Regions from separate parts of the Homo sapiens genome. Here regions 1, 3, 4 and 5 are each linked to region 2. The links are contacts of gene promoters, found by promoter capture Hi-C in blood cells and fetal thymus (Javierre and others, 2016). All regions are on one chromosome and are shown on one strand. The core of a region is centred on a gene start or on the middle of the fragment in contact, and the rest is flanking DNA. Distances in the headings are between cores, read along the strand shown. Region 1 overlaps XRCC1 (X-ray repair cross complementing 1). Region 2 holds the start of KCNN4 (potassium calcium-activated channel subfamily N member 4). Region 3 holds the start of CADM4 (cell adhesion molecule 4). Region 4 has its middle 5.4 kb from the start of ZNF575. Region 5 overlaps ZNF576 (zinc finger protein 576).

Evidence for each region. The method cuts DNA at HindIII sites, captures the fragments that hold promoters and counts their contacts. A CHiCAGO score of 5 or more calls a contact.
Region 1: a fragment that was not itself captured here is called in contact with the fragment with the promoter of KCNN4 in region 2 in 5 of 17 cell types (activated CD4 T cells, non-activated CD4 T cells, M0 macrophages and 2 more); the score reaches 9.3 in activated CD4 T cells.
Region 3: a contact is called between the fragment with the promoter of CADM4 here and the fragment with the promoter of KCNN4 in region 2, in 8 of 17 cell types (total CD4 T cells, neutrophils, M1 macrophages and 5 more). The highest score is 8.7, in total CD4 T cells.
Region 4: a contact is called between a fragment that was not itself captured here and the fragment with the promoter of KCNN4 in region 2, in 2 of 17 cell types (activated CD4 T cells and fetal thymus). The highest score is 7.2, in activated CD4 T cells.
Region 5: a fragment that was not itself captured here is called in contact with the fragment with the promoter of KCNN4 in region 2 in 14 of 17 cell types (activated CD4 T cells, M2 macrophages, non-activated CD4 T cells and 11 more); the score reaches 11.7 in activated CD4 T cells.

What each region holds. Positions count from the first base shown.
Region 1 is chr19:43,556,173-43,558,872 of GRCh38, forward strand. The region is part of intron 3 of XRCC1 (X-ray repair cross complementing 1); the gene reads right to left. Among named protein-coding and RNA genes, the nearest start is that of XRCC1, 18 kb to the right of the region's middle. The HindIII fragment of the contact is 4,144 bases long and covers 1-2,700 here.
Region 2 is chr19:43,779,608-43,782,307 of GRCh38, forward strand. KCNN4 (potassium calcium-activated channel subfamily N member 4) reads right to left here and starts at 1,366. Exons shown (of 9, transcript NM_002250.3): 1 at 1,096-1,366. The coding sequence starts at 1,254. RefSeq lists enhancers at 1-253, 612-741 and a silencer at 1,348-1,617. The HindIII fragment of the contact is 12,714 bases long and covers 1-2,700 here.
Region 3 is chr19:43,638,529-43,641,228 of GRCh38, forward strand. It overlaps CADM4 (cell adhesion molecule 4), which reads right to left and starts at 1,322. Exons shown (of 9, transcript NM_145296.2): 1 at 1,199-1,322. The coding sequence starts at 1,262. RefSeq lists a silencer at 1,206-1,345. The HindIII fragment of the contact is 9,580 bases long and covers 1-2,700 here.
Region 4 is chr19:43,537,199-43,539,898 of GRCh38, forward strand. No RefSeq gene overlaps it. Among named protein-coding and RNA genes, the nearest start is that of ZNF575, 5.4 kb to the left of the region's middle. The HindIII fragment of the contact is 1,013 bases long and covers 850-1,862 here.
Region 5 is chr19:43,597,460-43,600,159 of GRCh38, forward strand. ZNF576 (zinc finger protein 576) reads left to right here. Exons shown (of 3, transcript NM_001145347.2): 3 at 1,372-2,700. The coding sequence ends at 1,799. Among named protein-coding and RNA genes, the nearest start is that of ZNF576, 2.2 kb to the left of the region's middle. The HindIII fragment of the contact is 3,632 bases long and covers 1-2,700 here.

The sequences.
Region 1 (2,700 bases), core at 107-2,606, 220 kb before region 2:
CCACCACACCCAGCTAGAACTTGATCTTTAAGGGTTATGCACGTGGTGGTGAAAGAGAACAAGAGAGAAAACCTAGGCTCCAAGCAAGGGAGAGTGGCATCTCAGAGATCCTCACCACACTGCATAGAACTGAGGACTCCCCAAAGGCAACGCCCACACTAGTTACATGAAGGGGAAATAAGCCTGTGGAAAGAGTCCCTGGGAGGCCTGTCTGTCTTGGCCTTAGCTTGGGGGGACACCAAAGAAGAGGTGAAAATTCTTCTCGGGAGAACTCCTCACAAGTCTGTTCTCTCAAGGAATTGAGAGTAGCAATTCATGTTAGCAATCTGCATTGAAAAACCCAAGCTGAGGCCAGGCGCGGTGGCTCACGCCTGTAATCCCAGCACTTTGGGAGGCCAAGGCAGGCGGATCATTTGAGGTTAGGAGTTCAATACCAGCCTGGCCAACATGGTAAAACCCCATCTCTACTAAAAATACAAAATTTAAGCCAGGCATGGTGGCAGACGCCTGTTGTCCCAGCTACTCGGGAGGCTGAGGCACGAGAATTGCTTGAACCCAGGAGGCGGAGGTTGCAGTGAGCTGAGATCGCACCATTGCACTTAAGCCTGGTGGACAAGAGGCCAGGAGTTCAAGACCAGCCTAGCCAACATGGTGAAACACCGTCTTTACTAAAAATACAAAAATTAGCTGGACATGGTGGTAGGCACCTATAATCCCAGCTACTCGAGAGGCTGAGGCACAAGAATCGCTTGAACCCAGGAGTTGGAGGTGATGGTGAGCCGAGATTGTGCCACTGCATTCCAGCCTGGGTGACGGAGCAAGACTCTGCCAAAAAACAAAAAACGAAACAAAAAGACTGGGCACAGTGGCTCACACCTGTAATCCCAGCACTTTGGGAGGCCAAAGCAGGCAAATCACGAGGTCAGGAGATCGAGACCATCCTGGCCAACATAGTGAAACCCCATCTCTACTAAAAATACAAAAAAATTAGCTGGGCATGGTGGCGCGTGCCTGTAGTCCCAGCTACTCGGGAGGCTGAGGCAGGAGAATCACTTGAACCCAGGAGGCGGAGGTTGCAGTGAGCCAAGATTGCGCCACTGCACTCCAGCCTGGCAATAGAGCGAGACTCCGTCTCAAAAAAAAAAAAAAAAAAAAAAAAGATGAATGCAGCCACTTTTGGTTGGGTATATTTTGTTACTGACTTAGTCTCTTTTCTAACTGACATGCTGTGAAATTATAAAATTGGACAATAAAGCCTTTTGCTGAGAAAAACAGAACATAACTATAGCTCTCTTTGTGCACAGCTGATTATGCAAAGGAAACAAGAAAGACAATTATACAGAAGGGAAGTTTTCTTCCTGACCTTGACTATACTTGTTTATAAAAGGCCTGATTTGGAGCTGACAGGGAAGCTGCATTTATCATCTGGTGACTAACATGGGAAAACCCTGTCCTACTAAATACAAAAAAAATAGCCATGCATGGTGGCACAGGCCTGTAATCCGAGCTACTTGGGAGGCTAAGATGGAGAATCGTTTGTACCTGGGAGGCGGAGGTTGCAGTGAACCGAGATTGCACCACTGCACTCCAGCCTGGGCAACAGGAGCAAAATTCCATCTCAAAAAAAAAAAAAAAAAAAAAAAAAAAGGAAGGAGGGAGGGAAGGAGGGGAGGGAGAATGGAAGGAAGGAAGGCTCCTGTGACTTTGGGTTTGTGCCTTTGATGTTTTTGAAGAGTAGAGGTCAGTGATTTTTGTCAGATATCACTTATTGTACAAAGTATCTGATGTTTCCTTGTGATTAATTTAGGTTGCACACTTTGGCCAGAATACCACAGAAGTGATGTGTAATATACAGTTTATTTTGTATATTGACTTCTCATCTTGTGACCTTCACTTACTAAACCTTGTAGTTTGTCTAGATCTCTTGGGATTTTCTGCATAGACAATCATGCCATCTGTGAAAAAAGATAGTTTTCTTTTTTCTTTTTCTCACCTTGTCACACTGACTAGTGCAAAGTTGGGCATGGTGGTGCAAGCCTGTAGTCCCAGCTACTTGAGGGGCTGTGGAAGGAGGATCACTTGAACCCGGGAGGACAAGGCTGCAGTGAGCTGAGATCGTGCCACTGCACTCCAGCCTGGGTGACAAAGTGAGACCTCGTTTCAAAAAAAAAAGAGTAGGCCAGGTACACACAGCAGCTCACATGTGTAATCCTAGCACTTTGGGAGGCCGCAGCAGGTGGATCACCTGACCTCAGGAGTTCAAGACCAGCCTGGGCAACACAGTGAAACCCTATTTCTACAAAAAATATTTAAAAATTAGCCGGGCATGATGGCTCCCACTAGCTACTTGGGGGGCTGAGGCGGGAGGATCACTTGAGCCCAGGAGGCAGAGGTTGCAGTGAGCTGAGATCATGCCACTGTACTCCAACCTGAGCAACAGAGTGAGACCCCCATCTCAAATAAATAAATAAATAAATAAATAAATACATATATACATAAATAAATAATATGGTTAAAAAAAGAGACAGTTTGGTATTGGCATAAAGAAAACTATACATATCAATGGAACAGAGAAGAGAGTACAGAAATAAACCCATACATATGGTTAATTAATTCTCAACAAGGAGTCAAAATGATTCAATGAGAAAAGGCAAGTCTTTTTTTTTTTTTCAAAGTATTTTCAGCCAGGTGCAGTGGCTC
Region 2 (2,700 bases), core at 116-2,615:
TATTCCAACCCTTGTCCTTGATCTGCCCCATCACTGGCCTGACCAGGGCTGGAATGTGACGGGAGCCTGCTGAGACCTGCCCTGACCCCACTTTCCCCTTTCTTCCCTACTCACCACTCATCTTCGGAGTCAGCCCCTCTTCCCCAAAAGCAATCAAAACCCCCTTCTCCTTAAGACTCAGGAATCCAGGACCCAGCCCCCTCCTCTCCTGGTACCTAGGAGTCCAGGCCACTGTAAGCCTACCTCTCCACTATTTCCCTGACTAATCAGCATGCAGATTTGGGGAGAAATTGAGCTTGTTAACAGTGGAGACTGGGTTGGGGTTGGTGGGGGGAGGCAGGTCGGGGGAGAGGTTTGTTTCCCATTTCCCATCCCCACCCCCAAGGCAGTTTTTTCTGTCCTTTGCATCTAAGGCACTGGGTAAACATTAGAGGTTAGACAAGGACCAAAGAGCTGCCGCCTACTGGAAGAACTTTGTCTTTCCTCCACTCTCCCTTCACCAAACCTGGGGCTACCTCTCCCCTTATTGGCTCTTGGGGGGCTTGAGTGTCTGATCAGCCACCCTCTGGCCTCCAGGGGTCCTGGACCTCTGGCCGTCTAATGGCAACATCTTCAAAGACTGAAACACTGAAACAAATATTCCCTTCCTTTTGCAGAGAAGGACCCCAGCAACTGTCTCCTGGGAGCACCCAGGAGTCCCAGCCAAAGCCCCTCCTCCCTCAGACCCAAGAGTCTAGGCCCCCAACCTCTCCTCCCTCAGATCCAGGAGTCCTGACCCCCAGCCCCTCCTCCCTCAGACCCAGGAGTCCAGACCCCAGCCCCTCCTCCCTCAGACCCAGGAGTCCTGACCCCCAGCCCCTCCTCCCTCAGACCCAGGAGTCCAGGCCCTCAGTCCCTCCTCCCTCAGACCCAGGAGTCCAAGTCCCCAGTCCCTCCTCCCTCAGACCCAGGAGTCCTGACCCTCAGCCCCTCCTCCCTCAGACCCAGGAGTCCTGACCCCCAGCCCCCCCTCCCTCAGACCCAAGAGTCCTGACCCCCAGCCCCTCCTCCCTCAGACCTAGGAGTCCCAGCTCCCAGCCACCATGCCCCACTCACCGAGCACCCCCCGAACCACAGCATCTCTGCATGCAGCACCATGAGTCCAATGCCAGTTCCTGCCAGCACCAGTGCCCAGCCGGCCAGAGACTTCTCCTGCTCCAGCAAGCGCTTTCGGCGTCTCAAGGCCCCCAGGCCAAGCACCAGATCCCCGCCCATGGCCCCCGGGGTCTTGGGGCTCAGCCAGCTTCCTGCCCAGGGTCCCCCACCTCGCAGCACGCACAGGGCAGCCACTGTGGCTTGCAGGTCGTCAGCCTGCTCTGCTGGCTCTGGGACTTTTGCTCTGAGGCACAGCAGAGCCCTGTGCCCTCTGGGGAGTGGTGACGGCCAGGCAGGGCGGGGAGGGGCAGGGGAGGCCCCAGGGTAGGGGGAGGCTCCCCAGCTCCCCCTTTTGAGAATAAGGAGGGGCTAGGGTGTGTCTTGGGGCAGAGCAAGAAAGAGACGTCCATCCACGTGGATAAAGACACACACAGACACACGATGGGCTTTGTCACACACAATGGTCTGTACTTTGTGACACACACCTCTACTCACCACACCCAGACACCGAAGGACACTCCACAGCCCAAGACGGAGACTAACACACCAGGGCACACAACACAACCTACACAGAGTGACTCACAACTCCCAGCAAGCTCTGAAACCCACAGCCACACCCAGACACCACACACATGGTGTGACACACACCAGCACTTAGCAAGCAGGCAGTATCCCGTGGCACACACAGCCACCCAAACACCGTCCACACACAGGCACAAATATTACACTCAAAGTTGTCACAACTTTCTCTGACACAAAGAGCCACACCCAAACACCACAAATAGGACGATGCACAACTGTGGCCACACAAACACAACATACACCAGGTGTTACACAAACACACAATATATATTAAAGTAGTGACGCCCTGATGCCACACACCACACACCGACACAAACACTGTGCAGTCCCAGTTTCCTAAACACTACACACCCTTGGAACGAAACCCAATACGTGTAGACACACAACATTTAGGGACATACCTATAGTAGCCCCCAATCACCCAGAGCTAGAGAATTGCACATACATTGTGGCGCCTGTTGACTCGAACACAAGTGCTCGCAGTGATGATTCAAAACACGCACTGATTCAGCATGCTCTGATGTGTGGTGCGATTCAAATGTATGGTCAGAGGACAAGCTGAGTGGATGCATGCAGAGACCTACAAGGTACAGCGACACACGGAGAAACCCAAGAAGCACATGCCTGAAGCAAGATGATTCTGGTATATTCTGGCCACACAGGACAACATCCAGGATGATGCCCTGGGGGAAGGGGATGGGGTTGGACCTTCATAGACCCCAGTGCCCAAATGCAACATACGGCTGGGTGCAGTGGCTCATGCCTGTAATCCCAGCAGTTTGGGAGGTTGAGGTGGGAGGATTGCTGGAGCCCAGGGGTTTGAGACCAGCCTGGGCAACATAGCAAGATCCTATCTCTAAAACAAGCAAAAACAAAAAAACAAACGCAACATACACCATCACCTCTGAGCCATGAGCCACACCCAAACATGACATACAATACCTCCACACAACCCAACACGTTATATTCCAACATGCGTGGCCA
Region 3 (2,700 bases), core at 72-2,571, 140 kb before region 2:
GGGTGACCCGTGGCAGGTTCAAGACTTACACAGTGTGAGAGTGTGTGTGGGTGACATTTCCTGACCTTGTCCCCATTCTCAGGGTCACCCAACCTCGGGGGTCTCCAGCTTCTCACAGTGTGTGATGAGGGTATGTGGATGGCTCCCTGGATGTCCTGGACAGGGGCTTCTCTGTGAGTCAAGCCTGGGTGTGTGAATGGGTGAGCAGGGTTTGGAGAGGCATTCGCTGAATCCACGTGTGTGCCTACACGCCAAGGTCCCCCATTCTCACTTCCCCACACACATGCACACAGATGTTCCCCTCCAGGGCTCTTTAGAATGCCCTGCCTGACTGAATTCCTCTTCAGGGGCACAGAGGGATAGAGAGAGGGAGGAAGGTAGGATGGGAATGGGAGATCCCGGGATGGAGGCTGTAAGCGTAGAGAGAGGAGGCACAGCAGAAAGACAGGGATGGAGATAGTGGGACAGAGAAGGGGGAAAGAGACAGGTGACAGAAAGGGTTAGAGAAACGAGTGACAGAAAGACAGGGGACAGAGACAAGGGGATGGGGCAGATAGGGGACAGAGAAAAAGGGACAGAAAAACAAGGGTGACAGCGAGACAGAGACAGGGACCAAGAATAGGGGCAGAGAGGGAGGGCAGAAATCCGGGGGAAAGAGAATAGACAGGATGATGGAGGGGACAGAGTGACCCAGGAAAAGGGGACAGAGACCAGGGGACAGAGGTAGGGGACAAAGACAGAATAGATGAGGAACACCGAGGCAAGAAGAGAGGGAGACAGACAGAAGGAGGGACAGGACTTCGAGACTGAGGGATAGAGGACAAGGGTAGGGGGACGAGGAGCCAGACGGGGGGGTTCAGAGACGGGCGGACAGAGGGACGCAGAGACTGGACAGAAGGACAGCGGGACCGGCCTGGGGAGGGCGGACTTGTGTGTGTAGGGGGGTCTCGGGCCCTTTGTCCCCGCCGGGATCCAGCCTGCGCGGGTGGGGGGGCTGCGGCACGGCGGCCGGGCCCCGCGCCCCCTCCCCCGCTCGTCGCTCCCGGCTCCCGGCCCGCGCTGCGCTTTGTCCCGGGGAGGGGGCCCGGCCCGGCCCCGCGCGCATTGTTCGGCCTCTGCGGCCCCGAGGCTGCCGGGCTGTCACCACAGCGCGCCCCCCGCCCCAGCCCGGCCGGCCGACCCCGGCCCCCGACCCTACCTGGCCCCGCCGCGGCCGCCCACAGCAGCAGCAGCGGCCACTGGAAGCGCCGGGCCCGGCCCATGGTGCCGCCGCCGCCGCCGCCGCCGCTCGCTCCCGGCCCGGCACCTGCACCGCCCGCGCCGCCCGCCCCGCCCCCCGCGCCCCGCCCCCTGCCCGCCCGGGGGCGGGGCGCCGAGGCCGGGGCGGGGCCGGGGAGGGGAGGGGGAGACGGAGGAGAGGCCCGGAGACAATCGGGGGGACGGCACGGTGGGGGAACGGTGCGGGGTGCGAAAGCTGGAGAGGAGAGGGGTGAGGAGGGCGGGAAGGGGTGCGCGGGAGGGCGACAGCGGCGTGGGAGCAGGTGGGGGATCTCGGTGAGCGCGGGAAATGGAGGGTGTTGGGTGAGGGTGCTGCGTGCGGGCCCAGGTGCTGCGCGCGAGGGTGCGGAGTTGCTGGCATGCAGGGTGCTTGCGCTGCGCGGAGGGGAGGGTGGCAGGGTGTTGCTGGAGGCTGTGCGAGGGTGGGGGCGCGGGCGTCGTGGGGTGCGGTGTGTGCGAAGGGAGAGCGTGGCCAGCGTGACGGGGGAGCGTAAGGGAGGGAGTGCGACGTGGGAAAGGTGAGTGTGAGAGGCGTGCTGCGGGCAGGTGGGTGTCTGGAGTCTAGCGAGAGGCTGTGAGCTGAGCCACCGGGACAGGGGAGGCTGCAGCTGGAGGTCCGGAGGGTCCGGAGGTCGAGGCAGGTCAAGGATCTCCCAGGGCAGGGCGAGGCTGGGGCTCAGGAGTGGGGTGGGGTCAGTTCCCTCCCTCCCTCTCTCCTGTCCTGACCTGAAAACCCCGTGTTTCCGCGTCATTCTCCGGGAGGGGCCCCCTGAAAGTGAACTAACTGGAAGGAAGCCTGAATCCTGGGTCCCAGGAGGGAGAGGCTCCTGTGAACACCTTCCAAGCCCTGGCGTCCCCTCTCCTCCCTGCTGTCTCCCTGCCCCAGCCTCTCTCCCTCTCTCTGCATGTATTTGCCTCTGCCCTTCCTCTCTCCCCATCTTTGAGGGTGACTCACCCCTCCAGACTTAGGTCCCTTCTCCCTCCTGGGAGTGGGTTTCCCTGAGCCCACTTCTGTGACACCCTGTAGACCTGATGCGGGATCATTACCTATGGGACCCAGAAAGAGTGAGAAACCATGGAAAGAAGGCCTCGACCTCTCTCATGCCCATTTGTCAGGCAAACTGAGGTCCAGAAGTGCCAATTATGAACATCTTTCCTTCCCCCCTCCCCCCTCCCCGCCCAGACGGAGTCTCGCTCTGTTGCCCAGGCTGGAGTGCAGTGGCACGATCTCGACTCACTGCAACCTCTGCCTCCCAGGTTCCAGTGATTCTCCTGCCTCAGCCTCCCGAGTAGCTGAGATTACAGGCGCCCGCCACCATGCCTAGCTAATTTTTATATTTTTAGTAGAGACGGAGTTTTGCCATGCTGGCCAGGCTGGTCTTGAACTCCTTACCTCAGGTGATCCATCTGTCTGGCCTCCCA
Region 4 (2,700 bases), core at 106-2,605, 240 kb before region 2:
ATCGCTTGGACGCGGGAGACGAGGTTGCAGTGAGCCAAGGTTGCACCACTGCACTCCAGCCTGGGCGACAGAGAGCCTGCCTCAAAAAAAAAAAAAAAAGCAGCAGCAGCCAAGTCATTCATTCATCCATGTGTGTATGTATGTAGAGACAGGGTCTATGTTGCCCAGGCTAGTCTGAACTTCTGGACTCCCACTTTGGCCTCCCAAAGTGCTAGGATTACAGGCATGAGCCACCATGCCCGGCCCCAAGTCCATTTAGAAGAACAAGTAGGAGAGCCTTGGCTCCCCACCCCCTCAACCCAGATACAAGATTACAAAGCTGTGCAGTAATGAAATTGGTGGTGGTGGCTTGAAAACGGGCCAGTGGAAGACAATTGAGAGCTCAGAAACAGACCTGTGCTTATGCTGACATATGACAAACTGGACCTGTAGACCTGGGAGTGGCAACCTTTTTCTATAAAGGGCCAAAGAGTACAGATGTCCCCTGACTTAACAATGGTTTGATTTCAGGATTCTCCAACTTTATGATGGGTTCATCCGGATGTAGCATCATTGTAAGTCAAAGGGCATTGGGTTTTTTTTGTTTTGTTTTGTTTTGTTTTGTTTTTTAGACAGGGTCTTGCTCTGTTGTCCAGGCTGGAGTGCAGTGGCACAATCGCAGCTCATTGCCCTGAATTCCTGGGCGCAAGCGATCCTCCTACCTCAGCCTCCCAAGTAGCTGGGACTACAGGCAAGCACCACCACACCCGGCTTATTTATTTTTGAGATGGAGTCTTGCTTTGTTGTCCAGGCTGGAATGCAGTGGCATGATCGCCGCTCACTGCAACCTACCTCTGCCTCCTGGGCTCAAGCTTCTCCTACCTCAGCCTCCTGAGTAGCTGGGATTTCAGGTGTGCACCACCATGCCCAGCTAATTTTTGTATTTTTAGTAGAGATGGGGTTTCACCATGTTGACCAGGCTGGTCTAACTCCTGACCTCAAGTGGTCCACCTGCCTTGGCCTCCCAAAGTGCTGGAATTACAGACGTGAGTCACTGCGCCCAGCCCCCAGCTAAATTTTTTTTGTAAATTTTTTTGTAGAGATGGGGTCTCACTATGTTGCCCAGGCTGGTCTCAATCTCCTAGCCTCAAGTGATCTTCCTGTCTTGGCCTCCCAATGTCCTGGGATTCCAGGCGTGGGCCGCCAAGCCCAGCTGCATCTGTTATATGTTTAAGTTTTGCAGGCCATACAGTGTCTTCCACAACTATTCCACTCTGCCACTGTAGCAGGAAAGCAGCCACACACATTACAATACATAAATGAATGAGCATGGCTGTGTTCCAATAAACATTTACCAAAACACTAGGTAGGCTGGATTTTGCCTATGGGCTATAGTTTGTTGAGCCTTGACATGGATGAGTGGAGGATGGACAGACTAATCATAAATAAGGCTAAGAGACATGGGGAAAAATTAAGTTGAATCCCCTGGTATGTAGAAGAATGATCCCCCAAAGATATCCACATTTGAATCCCCAGAACCTGTATGTTAGCTTGCATGTAGCAAAAGGGACATTGCAGATGTGATTGAGATGGGTAAGTTATCCTGATTATTCAGATAGGCCCAATATAATCACAAAGGTCCTTATATGGGAAAGAAGGACGCAGAAGACAGAGAGAGGTGATCATGAAAGCAAACATTCGAGTGATGAAAGGCCCCAAGTCAAGGAATTTTGCCTACAAAGGGCAAGGAAATAAATTCCTCCTTAGAGCCTCCAGAAGGATTGCAGCCCTGCTGACACTTGATTTTAGCCCAATAAGGCTGATTTTGGACTACTGACCTCCAGAACTATAATAAAATTAACTTGTGTAGTTTAAAACCACTAAGCTTATGGCAATTTGTTACAGCAACAATGGGAAACTACTGCAGATCCCTACCTCACACCATATGCAAAAACAAGTTTCTGGGAGTTTAAGATCTAAATCTGAAGAGAAGAACTCAAAAATATTTACATGGAAATAAGAAGAATTATCTTAGTAACTCCAGAAGTAGAGACAGTATCCTTAAGAGACAAAAGAATGTAAATCATAGATGAAAACATGGGTAAATGTGACCATAAATGAATGTAAAGTTATGACTAGGATGGATGAGATATAGTATTTTAAGAGTGTGTACCTGGCATATCCTATTATACAGTGGAGGTTAGGAAAGGCCTTGTTGAGGATGTAATGTCTGAACTGAGATCTGAAAGTTGTGGTGGAAGGAGTGAGAGAGTAGAAAGTGTCCATAGATTGGATAAAGAAAATTTGGTACATATACACCACGGAATACTATGCAGCCATAAAATGGAATGAGATCACATCTTTTGCAGGGACATGGATGGAGCTGGAAGCCATTATCCTCAGCAAACTAACGCAGGAACAGAAAATCAAACACTGCATGTTCTCACTTATAAGTTGGAGCTGAATGATGAGAACACATGGACATGGCCGGGCATGGTGCCTCACGCCTGTAATCCCAGCACTTTGGGAGGTGGAGGCGGGCATATCACCTGAGGTCAGTTCAAAACCAGCCTGGCCAACGTGGCAAAACCCCCCTCTACTAAAAAACAAAAATTAGCTGGGCGTGGTGGCAAACGCCTGTAATCCCAGCTACTCGGGAGGCTGAGGCACAAGAATCCCTTGAACCCAGGAGGCAGAGGTTGCAGTGAGCCAAGATCATGC
Region 5 (2,700 bases), core at 28-2,527, 180 kb before region 2:
GGAGATGTGGCTGGGAATGGTTCTATTGGGAGAGAAACCCCAAGATTCTGGTCCCAACTCTGCCCTAGACTTTCAGTGTAACTTGGGCCTTGGTTTCCTTGACTGTCAAAAGAGGGTGGTACTTCCCACCTCACAGGGTGGGTATGGGATTAACTGCAGCAAAGGGGAAAGCTAGGGGTTAATGATGGTAGCCAGTTTGACATGTAATAGCAACACCTCCTGCTCAGTGTTTTATTATGAGCTAGGTGTATTTATTCTCATATTATGAACCATTTTAACATTCATTATCTCATTGAGTCCTTCTAATAATAGGCCCTTTAAACTGGGAACTGAGGCAGAGAGAGGTATTTGTAACAAGAGCTGTAGTCTCAATGCCCTTGAGCCAGAGACTACCAGGAACACACCTGCAGTTGAACACGTTGGGTTTCTCACTGCAATGAACACAGACCATGGGGGGACTGTGGGGTGTCTCACTAAGAATGGTAAAAACGACACAGGATTTGGGCTTGTGGGTGGTGATTTTGGGGAAGGTTCAAGCAAAATTGTTTTGCTCTGGATTGGATGCTACCAGGAAGCAGGGGCAATTCTATGATTGGCTATCGTAATAAATCTTACCCAGAAGGAGGAAGGAAGGAGGCGAGGCTCAAGCTCTGACTGATAAAGCAGCAGCAGACATTCACATTAGCCAGGATAGGAGGATGTTTGGTCATTTTTCTGCTTGGACAGTATTCATATTTTGTCTGTGCTCAGACATTATGATGATGTAGTCTTGTCTTGATTCATTTTAGTCACAGCGTGGCCTTGTCTGTCCTTGATATTCTGTGAAAATTTATGTTCAACAGAACACCAAGGTCTAGCTGTGAGTACCAGGCCAGATCCTGGATGTCGGGCTGGATTTCTCTGTATCATTAGTCATAATTGCAAATGACTGTACAGCAATTCATTTATTCCTTCCAACGGTCCTATGGAGTAGATACTGTTATTAGCCCATTTTCCAGATAAGGAAACTGGTGTAATTGCCTAGGAAGTGGTGGAGGTGAGATTCAATCCCAAGCAGTCTGGCTCCAAAGGCTGTGCTGTAATCACCATACCCCTCTGTTGGGCAGGCTGACTCTCTGGGTTCCAACCCTGGCTCCACCATTTCCTTTCCTAGCCTCATGACTATGGGCAACTTGCCTAACCTCTTTGAATCTCAGTTTGCTCATCCATAAAATAGGTGCAAGAACAGTTCTCCTGTTTGGTTGTCCAGCATTAGCATAGAACCTAGCACATAACACATTCAATGTTAATTGTTGGTGTGATTCTGGGGTTCAGGAAGAGGTCTTGGAGACTCCTGCTGGCCTCCCCTGACCTCTCCCCCACATTCCTCAGGCCACCTGGGGGCCCCGAAGTGCACCCGCTGCCTCATCACCTTCGCAGATTCCAAGTTCCAGGAGCGTCACATGAAGCGGGAGCACCCAGCGGACTTCGTGGCCCAGAAGCTGCAGGGGGTCCTCTTCATCTGCTTCACCTGCGCCCGCTCCTTCCCCTCCTCCAAAGCCCTAATCACCCACCAGCGCAGCCACGGTCCAGCCGCCAAGCCCACCCTGCCGGTTGCAACCACTACTGCCCAGCCCACCTTCCCTTGTCCTGACTGTGGCAAGACCTTTGGGCAGGCTGTTTCTCTGAGGCGGCACCGCCAGATGCATGAGGTCCGTGCCCCTCCTGGCACCTTCGCCTGCACAGAGTGCGGTCAGGACTTTGCTCAGGAAGCAGGGCTGCATCAACACTACATTCGGCATGCCCGGGGGGAGCTCTGAGTGCAGCTTAAGCCTCTCCACGGTGACGGGTGGCTCTGTGGCTGGTAGGACTCACCCATGATATGGGGTGCAGGAACTCTGGGGGCCCTGAAGGATTTGCTTCCCTCCCCTGGGAAGGCAGAGGGCTCTTAATAAAGAGGACCCAGAAGATTCTTATTTAGAGCTTCAGTCTTTGGAGCACACAGGGCCTTCGTGAGACAGTGAAATCAGATAATAATGAGATCTTTTGTTAAAAAAAAAAAATGGGAAGGGAGTGCGGGAGAGAAATGGTTTGTGTCTCCCTTATTCCCAGTTAAATACCTAGCTGCAGATTGTGCCATCACCCTTCATTCTTCCCAGATGGATGCCATGGGCTATGGGAGCAAATTGCCCTGGACCTTTGCCTGAATGGGGGCAGGAAAGGTGAGGTGTTGCTGGCCTGTAATGCCACCAGGTGAGTTCCAGATGTGGAGCAACTTGGGCTTTTGGGGATGGGGCAGCAAAGTTGGGAGCTGGACCCCAATTGAGTGGGGGTAGCAATTGGAGTCCTTGTGTCTCTTTTCCACCCCCTGCCATCCTCACTTAGAGGGGCCATGGCACTAGATGGCACTAGTCCCCCGATAATTTATGTCTCGTTGAAATAATTTTGTATATCATTCTAGTCCTGAAATATTTTTTTCATATGTGTAGGTGAAATGGTATGAATAAGCTAACAGGAATAGTATCTAAAAACAGAAAACATCCATATTAAAATGTCTAAACAGGGAGCTCTGGCTTTTGAGTGGGAATTTCCAGAGAACATAAGGGTGTGGGCAGGTGGGGGAACTCAGGCCAGAGTTGGCCTCGCTTTGTGGGGAAACTGGTTTGGAATCAAACAGAGATACCTTCTGTTTCGGGTTTTATTTGGCCAACACTGGGAGAT